2 separate regions of the Homo sapiens genome follow, and region 1 is linked to region 2. The links are contacts of gene promoters, found by promoter capture Hi-C in human tissues and cell types (Jung and others, 2019). All regions are on one chromosome and are shown on one strand. The core of a region is centred on a gene start or on the middle of the fragment in contact, and the rest is flanking DNA. Distances in the headings are between cores, read along the strand shown.

What was found. Contacts are between HindIII fragments. The study calls those that stand out against the background at their distance.
Region 1: a contact is called between a fragment that was not itself captured here and the fragment with the promoter of SPATA16 in region 2, in 2 of the 25 tissues and cell types used here (bladder and pancreas).

What each region holds. Positions count from the first base shown.
Region 1 is chr3:173,085,580-173,091,869 of GRCh38, reverse strand. All of the region lies in intron 2 of SPATA16 (spermatogenesis associated 16), which reads left to right. Among named protein-coding and RNA genes, the nearest start is that of SPATA16, 53 kb to the left of the region's middle. The HindIII fragment of the contact is 3,618 bases long and covers 1,418-5,035 here.
Region 2 is chr3:173,137,297-173,143,296 of GRCh38, reverse strand. It overlaps SPATA16 (spermatogenesis associated 16), which reads left to right and starts at 2,062. Exons shown (of 11, transcript NM_031955.6): 1 at 2,062-2,194. The region is part of intron 1 of LOC105374220 (a long non-coding RNA gene); the gene reads right to left. RefSeq lists an enhancer at 2,075-2,576. The HindIII fragment of the contact is 14,900 bases long and covers 1-3,997 here.

The DNA.
Region 1 (6,290 bases), core at 1,977-4,476, 53 kb after region 2:
GCAAAAGCTATAAAGACCCATGGAAAATTATGCTGCATCTTTATTTTATAAATAACCTGGCCTATAGTTTCTCAAACGTAGGGGCTAGTTCCTTCAAAATCATTTGAAAATCAATTGGTTTTATATGAAAAGATTTGATTTCCTCTCTTCAAATACCATTTTTCCACCTTCTTGTTCAACTCAACCTTCATTTATTAATACATTTCATTTAAACATTTTTCTAGCACTTAGAAAAATGTCTTGCAAGTGTTCCTTATTACTGTCTTATCATTGGACAATTCTATATGAAAATATGTTGACTTTTTGGCTACAAAAGACAGCTTGACCTCACTTTACAATGAGGAAACAAATATTAGCAAATTCATTAATTAGGGTCCTGATACAAACAGATAATTATGAAGAAAAACCAAGAGCCAATATTAACTTGATGTGAAATGTCAGTAAGAAGTGGAAAGCAGACAAAATAATTTCTACACATTAAATCCAAACCTATTGGAAGAGCAAGTAATGACTGCAGCAAGTTAAAAAAAAAAGTCAAATAAATTAATGATTATATTTGACATTAAAAGTATAAACATTTATGAATTTACTAATAGGTCTATTCTCTCTTCTTACTGACATTAGTCTACTAAGTTAAAGCTACTGCTTACATATGTTTTTAGTTTTAAGGACAAAGAAGGTTACAAGAAAAATATTAAGCTATCTAATGATAAAAAAGGAGCTAGGTCAGAAGAAAAAAGAAATATGCCCTATCATCTTTGTGCAGAAGTGATGGTGGTAGACATATATCAGAAAGACATATTCTTTGAGCAACTTTTTTTTTCCCAGAAGCTGTAATATGTAAGGTGAGTTGTCAATGTCCTCCCACCTAATAGGCCTGAAACCAACATTAAGATGTCAGATCAAGGGAAAGTTAGCAGTCTTTATTCAAAAAAGAGAGGTGCCCAGAAGCAAACTAAATTGTATTTATACTCTACATGTGTAGTGATTACATGCAATCTTGCCACTCTTCTGGTCCCATTCATGGCTCAGAAAAACTGAAGTAAAGCACCGTCTCTACTTTTACCATATCCTTGTGTTATCACAGATCATTGGTCCTATGTTAAATGTATCCATTTGAATATACTGGCAAAGAAGCACTTAGGAGTTGCCAAGGAGCATGACAAACTGCAGCAGCTTTTCTTGACAGGTAAAATGCTACCGCAATTCAGTGGAAGGCATTTAGGAACTGCAATCAGAAAACCTGCATTTTCAATCTGGCTCCCCCTCAGCTGATGTCTGTGAGCTTTAAGCTTCAATTTCCTCATTTGCAAAAAAAGGATAAAATTATGTTACCCTATTTCTGATCTCAGGGTGATGCAGTATTTGTGGAAGCGCCAAACTCATAAATGTAAGACTTTAGCATCATTCCATTCTTGCATTGCTGTAAAGAAATACCTGAGACTGGGTAATTTATTGGAAAAGAGGTTTAATTGGCTCACAGTTCTGCAGGCTGTACAGGAAGCATACCAGGCATTGGCTTCTGGGGAAGCCTCTGGAAGCTTACAATTATTGCAGAAGGTGAAAGGGGATCAGGCACATCACATGACAAAGCAGGAGTAGGGTGGGGTGAGGGAGGTGCTACACACTTTTAAACAGTCTCATGACAAGCCACTCACTATCATGAGAACAGTGCCAAGAGGAATGGTGCTAAACCATCCATGAGAAATCTGACCTCATGATCCAATCAGCTCTCACCAAGCCCTACTTTCAACATTGGGATTTACATTTCAGTATGACAGTTGGATAGGGACACATCCAAACTATATCAACATTTTTTCTGGGATTTCTTCCTCTTTGTTTTATTTTGTTTCAGAATTTTCTTTGAGGTAGTTCTTTAGCACCTGTTAAAAGCAGGCTTTTTAGTAGAAAACAGTATCCAGTTGAAAAACAAGAAGTGTGATTATAATCCACAATTTACAACACGCTCAAGTCAGAATTCCTGAGCAGTTGTCATAATCTCAGCCACGGCTTAGGCCCTGTCTTCCAGTAAGGGCCCATGTGCTGAGTCCTGGAGGAGTAGTGCTTCCGCAGTTTACCAGCACCTTCCCGTTTCCTCCTGCCTGGTGTTCCAATCCCTTCCTTCATCCCCATTATTTCCAATTCAGTGCTTTTCTCACTCCACATCTCAACAAGGTTCACCATAAGAAACACCTTACAAGGTACAGCTCCTTGTCCTCGTCGTTCACATTCCTGACACAATCCACCACCACCATGTCTTCAGGTCCCCTCAAGTCACAGGCTCCCCTTTTCAGGGCCTCCTCTGGTTCATTTTCCCGCAGAAGCTAATGGGCCCTTATCCGTATCTTCACTGACTGCTGTCACTGATAACAGGCAATCATGCACTCCATTACAGCTGTTAACTCCTCACAGTCACTGCCTCATCCGCTTCCCAGTTATTTCCTGAAGTTTCCTTTCAGGTACCAATTTCCTCAGCCATCCTCAGATAAGAACATTTGTATAGTGAAGCTAAAATAAACTTGCAGAAGCCATTTGATGTGGCCTCCTGCCTCTGGAGGAGAAGGAAGTGCACCACAGAGGACGCATGTCTTCACATCAGTGTTTCCTCTACCTTCCATTCACAACCAGAGAGAATTATTACTCTGAAATAAGTTCTTCCCCTAGACCCAAACCAATTCTCTATGGATGTATTCTGAGCCATATTTTCCCTCTTTGATCTTCTCTGGAGAACCTATCTCTTATTTAGGCATGAGAAATCGGGGATCTCAAAGTTCAAGGGTCACCTGGTCCAACTACACATCTGCTTTATAAAATACCATCCCAGCCAGTGGGTCATACAGCAGGAAAGGGAATTCAGTTCATTCTGGGGTGGTCCGTTCATCCTTGGACAGCTTTGACCAGGAGAAATGTTTAACCTGAATTCACCAAAATCTGCCTTCCAGAATATTCCATGCTCTGTTTATAATCCCAGCCATCACAACAGCTTCAGTGTTCAATACCATCTCATTTCTTCCCCAGCCCTTGCACATGCTCCTACAACACAGTAGGCTTTTAAGAAACATTTGTTGAGTGAGTAAATGAATGTTTATGTTCTTGCCTATGGGAAGGCACTTTGTACCTAGGACATCCATGAAATATAATCTGAGTTTTCTCCAGGCTAGAAGTCCTTAGCTCCTTTACTCATTTTTCACAAGGTAAGTTTCAAATTTAATACCTATACAGTTCCTTTCCTCTGATTTTTTTCCAGCATGTCTAAATCCATCTTGGTAAACAACCAAAAAAATTAAACATACACAAAAAAATACATTTATGTATATACAAATCTATATAATCATAAGTGTGTATAAAATTCAGCTTAAATACACACATATGTGTAAAAATTCCATATAAAATATGTTTCTAAATAAAGCTACATCAAGGTATACAGCATGAGTAAACAAAAACAAATTAAAATAAGTATCATTAACTTATAAAACTATGCTTTGGCGACCAAGTGCAGTGGCTTACACCTGTAATCCCAGCACTTTGGGAGGCCAAGGTGGTCGGATCATGAGGTCAAGAGATAGAGAGCATCCTGGCCAACATGGTGAAACCCCGTCTCTACTAAAAATACAAAAATTAGCTGGGCATGGTAGTGCACACCTGTAGTACCAGCTACTTGGGAGGCTGAGGCAGGAGAATTGCTTGAACCTGGGAGGCGGAGGTTGCAGTGAGCTGAGATCACACCACTGCAGTTCAGCCTGGCAACAGTGCAAGACTCCATCTCAAAAAAAAAAAAAAAAGAAAAGACAGAAAGAAAGAAAGAAAGAAAGAAAGAAAGAAAGAAAGAAAGAAAGAAAGAAAGAAAGAAAGAAAGAAAGACGGAAAGAAAATGCTAATCATCAGATTCTCCAAGGTCAAATTGGAGAAAAAAATATTAAGGGCAACCAGAAAGAAAGGTCAAGTCATCTACAATGGGAAGCCCATCAGACTAACAGCAGACCTCTCCGTGGAAACCCTACAAGCCAGAAGAGATTGGAGGCCAATATTCAACATTCTTAAAGCAAAGAATTTCCATCCCAGAATTTCATATCCAACCAAACTAAGCTTCATAAGGGAAGGAGAAATAAAATCCTTTTCAGACAAGCAAATGCTGAGGAAATTCATCACCACCAGGCCTCCCTTGCAAGAGCTCCTGAAGGAAGCACTAAATATGGAAAGGAAAAACCAGTACCAGCCACTACAAAAACACAATGAAGTACACAGACCAATGACACGATGAAGCAACTACATTAACAAGTCTGCAAAGTAACCAGCTAGCATCATGATGACCGGATCAAATTCACACATAGCAATATTAACCTTAAATGTAAATGGGCTAAATGTGCCAATTAAAAGACACAGAATAGCAAGCTGGATAGAATTAAGACCCATCAGTGTGCTGTAATCAGGAGACCCATCTCACATACAAAGACACACATAGGCTCAAAATAAAGGGATGGAGGAAACTTTACCAAGCAAATGGAATGCAGAAAAAAGCAGGGGTTGCAACCCTAGTTTCTGATGAAATAGACTTCAAACCAACAAAGATCAAAAAAGACAAAGACGGGCATTGCATTAATGTAATGGGCTCAATTCAACAACAAAAGCTAACTATCCTAAATATATATGCACCTAATACAGGAGCACCCAGATTCATAAAGCAAGTTCTTAGAGACCTACAATGAGACTTAGAGTCCCACACAGTAACAGTGGGAGACTTCAACACCCCACTGTCAATATTAGATCATCAAGACAGAAAATTAACAATGATATTCAGGACTTGAACTCAGCTCTGGATAAAGGGGACCTGGCAGATAGCTACAGAAATCTCCACCCAAAAACAACAGAATATACATTCTTCTTGGCTCCACATGGCATTTGCTCTAAAATTGATCACATTATTGGAAATAAAACACTCCTCAGCAAATGCAAAAGAGCTGAAATCATAAGTCTCTTAGACCACAGCACAATCAAATTAGAACTCAAGATTAAGAAACTCACTCAAAACCATGCAACTACATGGAAATTGAACAACCTGCTCCTGAATGACTTCTTAAATAATGAAATTAAGGCAGAAATTAAGAATTTCTTTGAAACTAATGAGAACAAAGAGACAGTGTACCAGAATCTCTGGGACACAGCTAAAGCAGTGTTAAGAGGGAAATTTATAGCACTAAATGCCCACATCAGAAAGCTAGAAAGGTCTCAAATTGACATCCTAACATTGCAACTAACAGAACTAAAGAACCAAGAGCAAACAAACCATAAAGCTAGCAGAATACAAGAAATAACCAAAATCAGAGCAGAACTGAAGGATATAGAGACATGAAAAACCCTTCAAGAAATTTATGAATCCAGGAGGTGGCTTTTTGAAGAAAATAATGGAATAGATAGACTACTAGCTACATTAATTAAGAAGAAATGAGAGAAGAATCAAATAGACATCATAGAAAACCATAAAAGGGATATCACCACTGACCCCAAAGAAATACAAACAATTGTCAGAGAGAATACTATAAACACCTCTAACCAAATAAACTGGAAAGTCTAGAAGAAGAAATGGATAAATTCCTAGATACATACACCCACCCAAGGTTGTACCACGAACAAGTTGAATTCCTGAATAGACAAATAACAAGTTCTGAAATTGAGGCAGTAATAGTCTACCAAGCAAAAAAAGCCCAGGACAAGGCAGATTTACAGCTGAATTCTACCAGAGGTACCAAGAGGAGCTGGTACCATTTTTTCTGAAATTATTCCAAACAATTGAAAAGGAGGGACTCCTTCCTAACTCATTTTATGAGGCCAGCATCACCCTGATACCAAAACCTGGCAGAGATACAAAAAAAACAAAAGAAAGAAAGAAAGAAAGAAAATTTCAAGGTCAATATCCCTGATGAACATCAATCCAAAAATCCTCAATAAAATCCTGGCAAACTGAATCCAGCAGCACATCAAAAAGCTTATTTACCACGATCAAGTTGGCATTATCCCTGGGATGCAAGGCTGGTTCAACATATGCAAATCAATAAACGTAATTCATCACATAAACAGAACTAAAGACAAAAACCATATGATTATCTCAATAGATGCAGAAAAGGTATTCAATAAAATTCAACATCTCTTTATGTTAAAAACTCTCAATAAACTAGGTGTTCAAGGAACATACCTCAAATAATAAGAGCCATTTTTGACAAACTTACAGCAAATATCATACTGAATGGGCAAAAGCTGGAAGCATTCCCCTTGAAAACCAGCACAAGACAAGG
Region 2 (6,000 bases), core at 813-3,312:
GCACTTCAACAAAGAAGATATAAATGGCAAATAAGCACATGAAAATATACTCAATGTCATTTGCTATTAGGGAATGAAAATTAAAACCACAAGGAGACACCCAAAGGAAATATTATTTTTAAAATGAAAAGAAAATCTGACAAAACCAAGTGCTGGTGAGGATGTGAGAGTAACTGGAAATCTCATGTATTGCTGATGGGAAAGCAAAATGGTACAGAAATTTTGGAAAATAATTTGGCTGTTTCTTATGAAGTTAAACCCCATATGGCCCAGCAATCTGATCAGTAGGTATTTAAGTAAAGTAAAACTTAAATTTACACAAACATACGTATACAAATATTTATAGGAGCTTTATTCATGACCACCCCCAAATATTCCTCAACTAGTGAATAGATAAACTGTGGTATATGCACACAAATAGAACATTACTCAGCAATAAACAGGACTGAACTCCTGATAAACACCACAGCAATGTGAATCTCATATGTAATATGCTGAATGAAAGAAGTCTGATTCAAAAGACTACATGCTATATAATTCCATTTATTTGACCTTTGGAAAAGATAACACTAAAGGGACAAAAAACACATCAGTAGATGCCAGGGTGTGGAAATGATCCGCTGAGTTGACTACAGAGACATAGTGTTATTTTTATGGGTGAAAGTAATGTTTTAAATCTTGAATTGTGTGGCACTTACAATCAAAACTTGCAGAACTGTTTACTAGGTTAAAAAAATTTTTTAAGGAAGCAGAGCTTTGAAGGCAGGATGGAGATACATCAGTGAGAGGTAGTAGGGAGATTATGACTACTGCAGAGGGATTGAAAAGCCTGTTATCACACAGCAGAGGCTTCATGCACCTCATCTCAATCAATCCTTACACCTTACCTTGAAGCGTAGTTTCCCCGTTTTTTGCAGAGAGGTAGGAGAGAGTGGGGGTGGGAAAGTGTGAATAAGACAAACTTTTTACCCAAGAAGTGAAATTTAGTCATCATATTTAGTGTACTTTGTAAAAGATAGATTATACTACTGTAATCAATGGCAGCATAGAGTAGTAAAACCATAACTGGACTATTTTTATTATGTTCAAAAACAGACAAAACTAAACTGTGGTGTTAGAAACCACAACAGTCACTACCTACGGTGAATGAAAAGGAATGGAAATTAGAAGGGGTTTCTGGGGTGCTAAGAATTTAATTTTTTATTGAGGTGGTGGTTATTCTGATGGGTTCACGTTGTGATAATTTATTCAACACACTGCAGTTCATTCATTTTTCTGGATATATGTCATATTTCAATAAAAAGTGATGCATGTATGATTTGTTAAGCTATAAAGGAAAGCAAGGGATGTTTGTCATACAAGTCACAACAGTGGCTAGGAGGAAGACGCAGTCCTTAGGGGTACATAGATTTCTTCAAATGTATCAGTAATGTGCTGCCTAAAATGCATAGAAGGTAAAGTGCGTTTATGTTTAAATATACATAATTACATATATAACATAACATGTTATATAATATTATCATATAACATGTTAGTATAATACATGATACATTTGATATATAATATACATTTATATATTCTATATAATATACATATTTTACTCTAAAACATACATAGGTAGGAGCTTATGAGATCTCATAAATGGTTTTAGAGTAAAATGTTTAAAATAATTTTCTTTAAAAGAGAACAAATACAAAACTTTATAAAATGTATGTATAAAGTCTATATTGTATCTGTGTAGTTTTGTGTGAAAGAGACAGAATGGTATGATTTTTTTTTAATCTATTCATAGTAAAGAGACTGCAAAGATATACATGAAAATGTTTTCAGTGCTTCTCTTTAGAATACAGATAATTTTTATTTTATGTACATCTTTCTGTATCTTCCAGATTATTTTATTGATCATATTGCTTTTAGAATCTGAACGGAAAAATATAAATAACCTTGTTTTTATTATTGGAAACATCAAGTGCAACTCAAGAGGAAAGACTAGGGAGGTGCCAGTGACCCGCGCCACTTGTGGGCGCGATGGGCCTCGTGGCACGGGACGTTTCAAGTCCTGGCGTCCCCGCGAGCAAGCAGCCTGATCAGGCCTCGCAGTGGGACGTTGGGAAGCCGGTGTTGGCAGATGCTGTGGCTGGGAGGAGTCCAGAGCTTCGCCCTGTCCCCGCGGGGCTGAGCCACAACTGCTTAGGTAGGAGGAGAATCATTCAGGTCTGCCCAGTTAAAGCTTTTCTCGTTCAGTGGCTGGGTGGGAAGGAAGGGAGATGACCCTCAGGTGAAGATGGAGTAAGCTGGGAAAACAGGAGCTCCTTTCTTCCTGCCCACGCGAGGAATGAGGAATGTTGCTTATAAAAAGCCCTAATAAGTAACCAAGAAATCATCTCCTGCAGGCAGTTAGAAGACAGGTAGTTCCAAAGTGGTTCCCTGTCCGCTGCACCGGGTCACCCTATCCTTCCCCACTCTGGTGAGAAAGTAAAGACTAAGATCCCACTTGGTTTCCCAATAACAGATTTTTTGTTTTGTTTTGCTTTATTCTAATATATATTCCCTAATAAAGTGTATAGTTTGAGGACATCTTCTTGTAGTCAAGTGGGAGATGATGACTGCTAATTCAGAGTTCACATTTTATCATTTGTGATACGGGTTGTTGTCTCCTTAACGCATAATATTACTGTGGATTGAAGACATTGAACGTCAAGGAGTAGGATATTAGGGAGAGAAACAATCCAAGCTCCCTGTAAGACATAGACCATGTCATCATTTCTGTATCCTAACATCATGCCTGGCGTAAAATGCGTGCTCTGAAATGTTTGCTGTATGAATGAGTAAATGAATGAATGAATGTCTTTTACAAGGACCTTGCTGTTCAAAGGTTGTTCAGCGTGAGCAATTAAAAATAGGTTCCAGCTTTGTTTAAAATTTGCATTTTGGATTTATTACCCATAAAATATTAATAGATATCAGTAAAGTTCTCTGTTTTTGAAGCATCAGGGAAGTGTTTACCATTTTTAGTAAGACTTAGTTTGAAAGAAATGCATAAAAACTTTGTATTGTGTTTTTGTTCAACCCTTTATGATTAAGTTTCATGTACTAGCAGTATTATAACAGAAACTACCCTAATTTCATTAAGTTGTTCATCCTCTGAGCAGTGAAACTAGCACCTTGGAAATTGATTATGACTAAAAGAAAGCAACCAATGAGCATGAACTGTGAGATACAGAACCTTAAAATGATCTCCAGGCATAAACCCACAGTTAATCCTTACTGCAGGAGTTTGTTTGTTTGTTTGTTTGTTTGTTTGTTTGTTTTGAGACAGAGTCTTGCTCTGTCACCCAGGCTGGAGTGCCGTGGTGCCTTCTTGGCTCACTGCAACCTCTGCCTCCTGGGTCCAAGTGATTCTCCTGCCTCAGCCTCCTGAGTAGCTGGGATTACAAGCACACGCCACCACACCCAGCTAATTTTGTATTTTTAGTAGAGACATGATTTTGCCATGTTGGCCAGGCTGGTCTCAAAGTCCTGACCTCCAGTGATATGCCCACCTCAGTATCCTAAAGTGCTGGGATTACAGGCATGAGCCACTACGCCCGGCTATTCTTTCTAATTAAGACACACAGTGACTGAAGCTACATTCCTCTACATAGAATTTCACTGCATGTTGTGTTTTTGTTGTTGTTCCTTTTATGTGACACATCAGTTTGAAATAAATGAATAGGTACCCCAACAATTGTAGGCCATAGTAACAAAAGCAGTGCAAACACCATATGCTCAAGGGTTTTTAAATCCTTTTACATCAGAAAGCCTGGAGTATTGTCTTTCAACTAGTGTAGAATATGTTGAGTCATCTTCTTGGAAAGTAATGTTCAAGTTGTAACATTTTGCACTCACGAAGAGCTTGCTGAGTTTTTCAGGGATGTTATAAAATAAAATATTATAGCAGTCTAGCTTAAATATAGCAAAATAAAGACTAATTTATCATAGCTCTAGCTAAATTTCAAAATATATGCAATGAATGAGCATGAGCCATCTGTCTAATAGAAAGCATTTTTCTAATTGTCTAATTTTTAAAAAAATTGCTGAACAATAATAACAGCAATAACAAAAATGATGATAATGATAGAACAATAGTTAGCATTTATTGAGCGGTTACTGTTTTCAGGCAATCTTCCTATATTACTCTTCTCAACAATTACATGAGGCAGATATTATAATTAACTCCATTTTGCGAATAAGAAAACAGAACCCAATGGCTATGACTGATATCAGAATTCCAAATCCCTATATGATGGGGAAAATTATTATAAAATTACTGGAAGGTGAAGATTCAGCTTTAGCTTTACATTTTAGAAAGCCTCCAGGAGTAAATGTATTTGCATACTATATGATGTGATATACATTTATGTACACCTATGTACATCTATTCTGAAATGTGCAGAATTCATGTATTTGAACCACCAATATTTCACGATTTAGGCAACTTTGAAAGGTAATTGAGTTGACCTGATACAGGATAGGTGTTAGAAAGCGTCTCTTTAACCTTTATGAGTAGAAACTGAAGCTGAATTCACACTGTCATCTAGAATTGCACAAGAAGTGGAAAATTGACATGGTTTTAAGTAGGCCAGTTGAAAGGAAATGTTTCAGGAAGACTTGTATTATAATTACTGAATAGAAATCAGCTCCTGATTTCAATTTCTTTTCATAGATAAATTAGTTATTCTGTCTTGCTGTTTATTTTAGATTTACCTAAATAAGTTGTGCATGTGCCTTTCAAACATAAACATTATTATATGGAATCAAAGTTAAGGAAGATTAATATCTTACAGAGGAAGGGAATTGTATATAACTCTGAGCTGATGTTTTTAAAATGTTTGAAAATATAGAGTTGAAAATATTGGCCTCACTTTTCTTTAGGGACCTTTAGCTCGTTACTTATTAGGAAGATAGCTCCACATCTTAGCTTAAAAGTTACTGGCACTCAACCTGGTCTGTATTTCTCTGCCAGAATAACTTTCCTTAGGAAATTCCACATTGTGGGTGTTCATCTGATTTCACATGCATGAATGCTTCAGTGCTCTCCCACTGGTTCTCAATTAAATTCCTATTAGCCAGCATAACTCAGGCAGAAGAATTCAATGCTGTCTTGAACGATCACCGAAGTTATAGCTTGAGAAGACATTGCATTATCACCCCCCCACCAAGAAAAAAAGTATGCATTTAACTTGTTAGAAATCAGCTCAATTTTGTTAACTTGAAGATGTAAGGAGCAAAAACATGATATAAATCACTTCTCATTCCTGTTGAACAGACATTTGGAAACCTAAGTTTAAGGTGAAGAAAGAAAGGATTGCAGTAGTCCTCTCTAACATACATTCCCAGACCTAATACATCTGGTCTCTTCTTTAGGGAGACGTGTGTGTGTCTGTGTGTGTGTGTGTGTGTGTGTGTGTGTGTGTGTGTGTGTGTGTGTGTGTTGAGAGTCCATGGGATCCCCCTCAGAGCAGAAGATAATGGAGGAATAAACACACAGAAGGCTTCTGAACCTTCTTAGGTATTGGGGCCAAGGCTTAATTAAAGGCTTTCAAAAGTTCCGATCTCTCAGTTAACTTCCTCACCCTTTATATTTACTGATGTAGTTAACAGTGAAGAAGCATCATGTTAAATATGAGAGTCATTACCAGATTGAAAGAAAAGACTTGAAATACATTGAAATTGACACCATTTATGAATGTAGAAAAGGAGGAAGTTTTAGTGTTCATAGAAGCTTTATCTTCTGCAGCTGCCATTTCTTTTCCTGTTTTCCTCCCATAGATCCCGCCTTCCATGGACCTTTCTGTGACTCTGTTGTTATAGAATTTGTCTAACATCGTGGTCATCTGATTTTGTTCTTTCTTATCTTTCAGTAGCAGGTGATCATTTCTGTTCTCCACCTATCCTTCTACCACCCTAATTCGCAATATTTTTTATTCTTCCAGATCTTTCACATCCACAATATTCCTT